Regions from separate parts of the Homo sapiens genome. Here region 1 is linked to region 2. The links are contacts of gene promoters, found by promoter capture Hi-C in human tissues and cell types (Jung and others, 2019). All regions are on one chromosome and are shown on one strand. Each heading gives the region's core, a stretch centred on a gene start or on the middle of the fragment in contact. The rest is flanking DNA. Distances are from core to core; before and after follow the strand shown.

Region 1 (5,036 bases), core at 1,041-3,540, 520 kb after region 2:
CTCAAAACTCCTGACCCTGTGATCCACCCGCCTCGGCCTCCCAAAGTGCTGGGATTACAGGCGTGAGCCACTCTGACCGGCGGAGATTTTTCTAATGGTTCCTTAATTAAAATAAATTATGTATCCCTGTAATTACCATATGAAGCCCCCCAGAGGACGACATTTTCTTTTTTCCTTTGAAATGAAGTCTTGCACTGTCACCAAGGCTGGCGTGCAATGGGACGATCTTGGCTCGCTGCGATCTCTGCCTCCTGGGTTCAAGTGATTCTCCTGTCTACCCTTCCTGAGTAGCTGGGATTACAGCTGTGCACCGCCACGGCTGGCTAATTTTTTGTATTTTTAGTAGAGACAGGGTTTCACCCCGCTGGCCAGGCTGGTCTCAAACTCCTGACCCGAAGTGATCCACCCTCCTCGGCCTTCCAAAGTGCTGGGATTGCAGGAGTGAGCCACCGCGCCCGACCTAAGGAGGCATTTTTTTTTTTGAGACGGAGTCTCACTCTGTTGCCAAGCTGGAGTGCAGTGGTGTGATCTCAGTGCAATGCAACCTCCGCCTCCCTTGTTCAAGCAATTCTCCTGCCTCAACCTCCCGAGTAGCTGGGATTACAGGCACGCGCCACCACGCCCAGCTAATTTTTGTATTTTTAGTAGAGACGGGGTTTCACCATGTTGGCCAGGATGGTGTCGATCTCCTGACCTCATGTTCCAGCCGCCTTGGCCTCCCAAAGTGCTGGGATTACAGGCGTGAGCCACTGTGCCCGGCCCCTAAGGAGGCATTTTCTTACTGAGTTCCATTATTACCAATTTTCTTTTAGTTAAGTTTGAAATTCAATTATTTGGACTCTTGTTTATAGTTTGCTTTTGTTGTGTGATTCATAAGAGGTTGACAATTTTATGTTGGGTTAGATTTTTAGAATGTATTTACCCAAAGCTCTGGTATTTGATAGAACTATTTTTGTCTTACAGATTATTTGCCCTACCTGAAAACTGCTTACTGCAAAACTCTGATGTTATATCTAAATCTCAGGTCTCATTCAGCAGCTATTGCAATGTTAACTTTGTTTTCTTCTTTATTTTGCAGATGTATGTCCATCCCTGTGACGATGAGGGCTATTCGGAGGAAAGCTGAAACCATTCAAGCCGACACCCCAGCACTGTCCCTCATTGCAGAGACAGTTGAAGACATGGTGAAAAAGAACCTGCCCCCGGCTAGCAGCCCAGGGTATGGCATGACCACAGGCAACAACCCAATGAGTGGTACCACTACACCAACCAACACCTTTCCGGGGGGTCCCATTACCACCTTGTTTAATATGAGCATGAGCATCAAAGATCGGCATGAGTCGGTGGGCCATGGGGAGGACTTCAGCAAGGTGTCTCAGAACCCAATTCTTACCAGTTTGTTGCAAATCACAGGGAACGGGGGGTCTACCATTGGCTCGAGTCCGACCCCTCCTCATCACACGCCGCCACCTGTCTCTTCGATGGCCGGCAACACCAAGAACCACCCGATGCTCATGAACCTTCTTAAAGATAATCCTGCCCAGGATTTCTCAACCCTTTATGGAAGCAGCCCTTTAGAAAGGCAGAACTCCTCTTCCGGCTCACCCCGCATGGAAATATGCTCGGGGAGCAACAAGACCAAGAAAAAGAAGTCATCAAGATTACCACCTGAGAAACCAAAGCACCAGACTGAAGATGACTTTCAGAGGGAGCTATTTTCAATGGATGTTGACTCACAGAACCCTATCTTTGATGTCAACATGACAGCTGACACGCTGGATACGCCACACATCACTCCAGCTCCAAGCCAGTGTAGCACTCCCCCAACAACTTACCCACAACCAGTACCTCACCCCCAACCCAGTATTCAAAGGATGGTCCGACTATCCAGTTCAGACAGCATTGGCCCAGATGTAACTGACATCCTTTCAGACATTGCAGAAGAAGCTTCTAAACTTCCCAGCACTAGTGATGATTGCCCAGCCATTGGCACCCCTCTTCGAGATTCTTCAAGCTCTGGGCATTCTCAGAGTACCCTGTTTGACTCTGATGTCTTTCAAACTAACAATAATGAAAATCCATACACTGATCCAGCTGATCTTATTGCAGATGCTGCTGGAAGCCCCAGTAGTGACTCTCCTACCAATCATTTTTTTCATGATGGAGTAGATTTCAATCCTGATTTATTGAACAGCCAGAGCCAAAGTGGTTTTGGAGAAGAATATTTTGATGAAAGCAGCCAAAGTGGGGATAATGATGATTTCAAAGGATTTGCATCTCAGGCACTAAATACTTTGGGGGTGCCAATGCTTGGAGGTGATAATGGGGAGACCAAGTTTAAGGGCAATAACCAAGCCGACACAGTTGATTTCAGTATTATTTCAGTAGCCGGCAAAGCTTTAGCTCCTGCAGATCTTATGGAGCATCACAGTGGTAGTCAGGGTCCTTTACTGACCACTGGGGACTTAGGGAAAGAAAAGACTCAAAAGAGGGTAAAGGAAGGCAATGGCACCAGTAATAGTACTCTCTCGGGGCCCGGATTAGACAGCAAACCAGGGAAGCGCAGTCGGACCCCTTCTAATGATGGGAAAAGCAAAGATAAGCCTCCAAAGCGGAAGAAGGCAGACACTGAGGGAAAGTCTCCATCTCATAGTTCTTCTAACAGACCTTTTACCCCACCTACCAGTACAGGTGGATCTAAATCGCCAGGCAGTGCAGGAAGATCTCAGACTCCCCCAGGTGTTGCCACACCACCCATTCCCAAAATCACTATTCAGATTCCTAAGGGAACAGTGATGGTGGGCAAGCCTTCCTCTCACAGTCAGTATACCAGCAGTGGTTCTGTGTCTTCCTCAGGCAGCAAAAGCCACCATAGCCATTCTTCCTCCTCTTCCTCATCTGCTTCCACCTCAGGGAAGATGAAAAGCAGTAAATCAGAAGGTTCATCAAGTTCCAAGTTAAGTAGCAGTATGTATTCTAGCCAGGGGTCTTCTGGATCTAGCCAGTCCAAAAATTCATCCCAGTCTGGGGGGAAGCCAGGCTCCTCTCCCATAACCAAGCATGGACTGAGCAGTGGCTCTAGCAGCACCAAGATGAAACCTCAAGGAAAGCCATCATCACTTATGAATCCTTCTTTAAGTAAACCAAACATATCCCCTTCTCATTCAAGGCCACCTGGAGGCTCTGACAAGCTTGCCTCTCCAATGAAGCCTGTTCCTGGAACTCCTCCATCCTCTAAAGCCAAGTCCCCTATCAGTTCAGGTTCTGGTGGTTCTCATATGTCTGGAACTAGTTCAAGCTCTGGCATGAAGTCATCTTCAGGGTTAGGATCCTCAGGCTCGTTGTCCCAGAAAACTCCCCCATCATCTAATTCCTGTACGGCATCTTCCTCCTCCTTTTCCTCAAGTGGCTCTTCCATGTCATCCTCTCAGAACCAGCATGGGAGTTCTAAAGGAAAATCTCCCAGCAGAAACAAGAAGCCGTCCTTGACAGCTGTCATAGATAAACTGAAGCATGGGGTTGTCACCAGTGGCCCTGGGGGTGAAGACCCACTGGACGGCCAGATGGGGGTGAGCACAAATTCTTCCAGCCATCCTATGTCCTCCAAACATAACATGTCAGGAGGAGAGTTTCAGGGCAAGCGTGAGAAAAGTGATAAAGACAAATCAAAGGTTTCCACCTCCGGGAGTTCAGTGGATTCTTCTAAGAAGACCTCAGAGTCAAAAAATGTGGGGAGCACAGGTGTGGCAAAAATTATCATCAGTAAGCATGATGGAGGCTCCCCTAGCATTAAAGCCAAAGTGACTTTGCAGAAACCTGGGGAAAGTAGTGGAGAAGGGCTTAGGCCTCAAATGGCTTCTTCTAAAAACTATGGCTCTCCACTCATCAGTGGTTCCACTCCAAAGCATGAGCGTGGCTCTCCCAGCCATAGTAAGTCACCAGCATATACCCCCCAGAATCTGGACAGTGAAAGTGAGTCAGGCTCCTCCATAGCAGAGAAATCTTATCAGAATAGTCCCAGCTCAGACGATGGTATCCGACCACTTCCAGAATACAGCACAGAGAAACATAAGAAGCACAAAAAGGAAAAGAAGAAAGTAAAAGACAAAGATAGGGACCGAGACCGGGACAAAGACCGAGACAAGAAAAAATCTCATAGCATCAAGCCAGAGAGTTGGTCCAAATCACCCATCTCTTCAGACCAGTCCTTGTCTATGACAAGTAACACAATCTTATCTGCAGACAGACCCTCAAGGCTCAGCCCAGACTTTATGATTGGGGAGGAAGATGATGATCTTATGGATGTGGCCCTGATTGGGAATTAGGAACCTTATTTCCTAAAAGAAACAGGGCCAGAGGAAAAAAAACTATTGATAAGTTTATAGGCAAACCACCATAAGGGGTGAGTCAGACAGGTCTGATTTGGTTAAGAATCCTAAATGGCATGGCTTTGACATCAAGCTGGGTGAATTAGAAAGGCATATCCAGACCCTATTAAAGAAACCACAGGGTTTGATTCTGGTTACCAGGAAGTCTTCTTTGTTCCTGTGCCAGAAAGAAAGTTAAAATACTTGCTTAAGAAAGGGAGGGGGGTGGGAGGGGTGTAGGGAGAGGGAAGGGAGGGAAACAGTTTTGTGGGAAATATTCATATATATTTTCTTCTCCCTTTTTCCATTTTTAGGCCATGTTTTAAACTCATTTTAGTGCATGTATATGAAGGGCTGGGCAGAAAATGAAAAAGCAATACATTCCTTGATGCATTTGCATGAAGGTTGTTCAACTTTGTTTGAGGTAGTTGTCCGTTTGAGTCATGGGCAAATGAAGGACTTTGGTCATTTTGGACACTTAAGTAATGTTTGGTGTCTGTTTCTTAGGAGTGACTGGGGGAGGGAAGATTATTTTAGCTATTTATTTGTAATATTTTAACCCTTTATCTGTTTGTTTTTATACAGTGTTTCGTTCTAAATCTATGAGGTTTAGGGTTCAAAATGATGGAAGGCCGAAGAGCAAGGCTTATATGGTGGTAGGGAGCTTAT
Region 2 (4,947 bases), core at 2,448-4,947:
TGTCACCCGGGGTGGAGTACAGTGGTATGATCTCGGCTCACTGCAACCTCTGCCTCCCAGTTTCAAGTAATTCTCCTGCCTCAGCCTCCCGAGTAGCTGGGATTACAGGCACGTGCCACCATGCCTGGCTAATTTTTTTCTATTTTTAGTAGAGACGGGATTTCACCATGCTGGCCAGGCTGGTCTCAAACTCCTGACCTTGTGATCTGCCTGCCTCACCTCCCAAAGTGCTGGGATTACAGGTGTGATCCAACGCACCCAGCCAAGGAAGACTTTTTTTTTTTTTGAGATGAAGTTTCACTCTTGTCTCCCAGGCTGGAGTGCAATGGCACGATCTCGGCTCACTGCATCCTCCACCTCCTGGGTTCAAGCGATTCTCCTGCCTCAGCCTCTCAAGTAGCTGGGATTATAGGCGCCTGTCACCACGCCTGGCTAATTTTTGTATTTTTAGTAGAGGCGGGGTTTCACCATGTTGGCCAGGCTGGTCTCGAACTCCTGACCTCAGGTGATCTGTCTGCCTGAGCCTCCCAAAGTGCTGGGATTACAGGCATGAGCTACCACGCCCAGCCATGGAGGACTTTTTAAATTAAAAAAACAACCTTACCACAATTCCATATCACGCCTAAACATTTAGAATTCCTTAATATCGTTGAATACCTTGTCAGTATTCAAATTTGCCTGATAACTTAATAAAATCTTTTTTTTTTTTTTTTTTTTTTTGAGACAGAGCCTTGCTCAGTCACCCAGGCTGGAGTGCCAATGGTGCAATCTTGGCTCACTACAACCTCTGCCTCCTGGGTTCAAGCAATTCTCTTGCTTCAGCCTCCTGAGTAGCTGGGATTACAGGCGCCCATCACCACACCCAGCTAGTTTTTGTAGTTTTAGTAGAGACGGAGTTTCACCACGTTGGCCAGGCTGGTGTCAAACTCCTGACCTCAGGTGATCCGCCTACCTTGGCCTCCCAAAGTACTGGGGTTACAGGCATGCGTGACCATGCCCGGCCTTTTTTTTTTTTTTTTTTTTTTTTTTTTTAAAGTCAGTTTGCTTGAATCAGGATCCAAATAAGACTTTTAGTTGATATATCATTTAATTTATTTTAATCTGTAAGTCTCTCCCCCTCTTTTTTTTCCTTTTTTTTTTTTTTTTTTTTTGAGACAGGATCTCACTCTGCTGCCCAGACTGGAATGCACTGGCACGATCACAGCTCACTGCAGCCTTGACCTCCCGGGCTCAATTGATCCTCCCACCTCAGCCTCCTGAGTAGCTGGGACTATAGACACACCACCATGCCCAACTAATTTTTGTATTTTTTGTAGACCACGGGGTTTTACCATGTTGTCCAGGTTGGTCTCGAACTCCTGGACACAAGCCTTGGCCTCTCAAAGTGCTGGGATTACAGGCGTGAGTCACCATACCTGGCCCCAGTTTTATTTGTTAAGGGAATTGGGTGTTTGTCCTAATTTTCTTCATTCTAGACTTTGCTGACTATATCCCTGGGGAATGTATGTTATGCTATTTTGTGTCCTCATCTTTTCATATAACTTAGCAAACATTCCCCATACTGCCACAGGGTTTTCACAATCTGTCCTAAATGGCTTCATACTATTCCATCCAGTGGATATACTGTAATTTTTTTCTTGGGCATTTGGTTGCTTTCAGTTTTTCACTACTATAAATATTGCTGGAATGAACATCCTGACACATTGCAGCTTTTCCTGTACATGGGATGACTTCCTTAGAATATGCTACCAAAAGTGTAATTATGGCTCTGAGGCAAGAAGAATTTTTCAGCTTCTTGGCACACAGTGACAAGTGTTTGTCCAAGGGTTTGTATGTCCCCCAGCACGAAATAAGAGAGCTGTCACTCACTCTGAATAGTGCTTAGGGCTATTCACAGCTGAAGAACGTTTGGGGAAGATATGATAATTATGAGGGCCAAGAGAGAAGGAGAAAGATGACAACAGGGACTCCCGCTAAATAAAGCAGAAAGTGATCTGCAATTTACCACAAACCTAGAGTGAGTCAGAACTCTGTTCATTCCTATTGTGAAAAAAAAATCCTCGATAACAGGAGTTATTAATAGTGCATGACATGTTCAGTAATCTTTCTGTTAGACTCTGCATTAGTCAGAACCTTATTTGAGACGTGGACTCAGTCTGGGTCACTGAACTTCATAGAGATGTCAGGAAACTGACCAAGATCCAGAGGGATCGATCAACTTGATGGAGGATGAAGAATCCCAGAGAAAAATCAAAGGAGTCAAGCAGGCACACTTCGGAAAAAACAGAGACACCTTTCTTGCCTTAATGCTGGGGAGGTTTCTGTGAAAAGAACAACACTGGGTTTGCTTATGTCTGCAGAAAGATGACTATAAGGAAAGGCACCTCCACAAACCAGGAGAAACTTCCACAGGACATAGGCAGAGCTATTTCAGACTCAGATGATTATTTCGATCTTGGAATGAGCCCTTTTGGGGCCATTGGCCCTGGAAATATTGAAGAAGCTGCCTGTTCTGCTCTGGGTGGTTCAAATACCCACCTGCCTGGTGACCACTAAGTGCCTCTGGGGGTCCCACTCCAGCTGTGTGACAACTGTTTCCTGGCAGCCCCCTGGGGAAGGAAAGGTAGGTGTAGTCCGAGTAAAGTGCTCCGCAGTTTCCCTGGGCTAGCCTTTTCCTTCCTGTTCCCTCACTTTCAGTTCAGGGTGCCATGAACTGCCATTCAGAGTCAGGTTGGCATGCCATGACATCATCTGACCTTGCTATTCCAGCCCTGCCCTGCATAGAGTGGACTTAGAAAGAAGCTGGGTAAGGAGTTGAAACTACCCAGACAAGACCTCTTGGTGACATGGAGAATGGGAGTAACCGAGGAGACCTCAAGAGCCATTTAGTTCAACCTCCTACAGTAATATTAAGTAGATTCCTACAATGCAACAGGTGCTTTACATACATTCTTTTGGGTTCCCACAACCTTGGAGGTGGGGTTTCACAGGTGTGGAATTGGAGATTAAGACAAGTAATTTGCCCAGGGTCACACTGCCAATAAAGGAGGGCCTACCCCATGTCTACCAGGCAGTAAAGTCTGTGCCCTTGCCTTTAGACGATGCAGATGTGAAAACTGCAGACCAGAGCCTCTCATTCAAAGCCACACAAGCTGACCTGAGACAGAAACTCAGGCTCCTTACTACTGATGGAGGAATCTATGATACGTAGCCTCTTCTCACGTCAGGTGCGGGGCGGCCAAGGATGTGGCCCGGTCCGGGGCAGCCTGGGCCAAGCGTGACTGAGAAGGAGAAGGCAGGCTCCGTTCCGGGCCCTCCAGACCCTCATCCCAGCCAATGTTGTGAAAAGCGCTCTCCCAGGAGGGCCCAGCAGGGCAAAGGGCCGGGCTAGTCTGTTTCTGGAGGAGCCAATCTGGGGCCAGGGCGGAGGCAGCCAGGTGCAGTGGAAAAATCCTGCAGTTGGGGTCAGAATATTTGGGTTTCGATCCAGTCTAGGACCCAGCAAAGACCTACAGAAAGTTACTTACAAGTCCGAGTCTCCTCATCTGCAAAACTGGGGCACGGATAAAATACACTTGAAGGGCACAGAAGCAAAAGTTGGAATTGTTACGCACCAAAATTCTATCATCCGATCTGACCATCACGTCACGGTACAACTTCCAACCGTGCGTCCCCGAAGAGGCCGGGAACGGAGCCCAGGAAAAACTACAACTCCCAGGAGGCGTCGGGAGGGCCGGCCCGGAGCCAGCGGAAGAAACTACAACTCCCAGAAGGCGTCGGGCGTGCCGGCGCGGGGCGGTGACGTACGGGGACCGGCGCGGAGCGCTGATTCGGCCGGAGCTGCCAGCGGGGAGGCTGCAGCCGCGGGTTGTTACAGCTGCTGGAGCAGCAGCGGCCCCCGCTCCCGGGAACCGTTCCCGGGCCGTTGATCTTCGGCCCCACACGGTGAGCCCGGAAGGAACCAAGAGGCCCCAGGGCTACGGGAGGGGCGGGAGAGAAGGTGGGGGCTGCTGGGGAGGCGCCCCGGGCTGGAGAGACGGGGGCAGAGGGAGTGGGGGGTGGAGGGAGTGCATCAGCCGAGGGGGTGCATCGGCTGGGGAGGTGGCCAAGGAATAAAGTGCGAGCGGGAGGCCGGGGGTGGAACGTCGGGAGGAGCGCCTCGGCTAGGGGTGGGAGGCGGGGAGCGGCTCGGCTTCGGGGATAAACGTTTGGCTGCCTCCAGGGCTGGGTGAACGCGTGGAGATGGCTGTGGGGTCCCGGACCGGACCGGGTTCCGAGTGCGAAGACCCAGGCTGGGGAACAGAGCGGGACCCCTCCCCCCGGCCCCGCACCCGAGGTCTCACTCAGAAAACCCCAACAACAGTGAGGACTCCGCCTCTTCGCTCCTCCTCTCCTGTGCTTAGTGCGGGTTCGCCTGGGCACTCGCTTTCCGCTCCTACCGCCCTCCCCCAGTCGGGGTGGCTGGGCCAAAGTTGAGAGGTTATCAGCTGTGGTCCTGCAGCTTGGGGGGTGGGCGGAATGGACATGGCATTGTGACGTGCTGCCCCGGACTCCCCGTTGGGGTCCCCATCCAGGCCTGGATGTTTTGTGCTCCTCTTCCAGAAGACAGGAGGTTTGCTGTTGTGAGGGCTGCTCTTTCCTGGGGGAGGGAATGGGAAGGGCTCACCTGGTGGCTGCCCTGGTGGTGCTCAGCCTTGGCTTGAGTGTCTGGCATACTGGCTGGGCCCGGATATTTGTATGTGGAGCCAAGAGGGTGGGGCGGGAAGGAGGGGGAAAGAGCTACCAGCAAAAAAGTGGTTAACACAACAGAGTTGCTGCAGGCTCTGGTTTGAGGCAGGTTATGAAACCACATCAGGGCCCAGCACTAAGCAGCCACCTGCCAGCTATGGCAGCAGAAGTTTTCGGCTCAACTCCTGTAGACCTAGTCGACCTCTGCCAGCCTCTTCT

What was found. The method cuts DNA at HindIII sites, captures the fragments that hold promoters and counts their contacts. A contact is called where the count stands out against the background at its distance.
Region 1: a fragment that was not itself captured here is called in contact with the fragment with the promoter of LRRC3C in region 2 in 1 of the 25 tissues and cell types used here (dorsolateral prefrontal cortex).

Annotation. Positions count from the first base shown.
Region 1 is chr17:39,406,764-39,411,799 of GRCh38, reverse strand. MED1 (mediator complex subunit 1) reads left to right here. Exons shown (of 17, transcript NM_004774.4): 17 at 1,079-5,036. The coding sequence ends at 4,325. Among named protein-coding and RNA genes, the nearest start is that of FBXL20, 7.7 kb to the right of the region's middle. The HindIII fragment of the contact is 5,074 bases long and covers 1-4,827 here.
Region 2 is chr17:39,926,482-39,931,428 of GRCh38, reverse strand. It overlaps LRRC3C (leucine rich repeat containing 3C), which reads right to left and starts at 3,697. Exons shown (of 4, transcript NM_001195545.2): 1 at 3,615-3,697. ORMDL3 (ORMDL sphingolipid biosynthesis regulator 3) reads left to right here and starts at 3,828. Exons shown (of 4, transcript NM_139280.4): 1 at 3,828-3,945. LOC124903999 (a long non-coding RNA gene) reads right to left here and starts at 4,709. Exons shown (of 2, transcript XR_007065750.1): 1 at 4,667-4,709; 2 at 4,427-4,501. RefSeq lists enhancers at 3,352-3,963, 3,964-4,574. The HindIII fragment of the contact is 12,451 bases long and covers 1-4,947 here.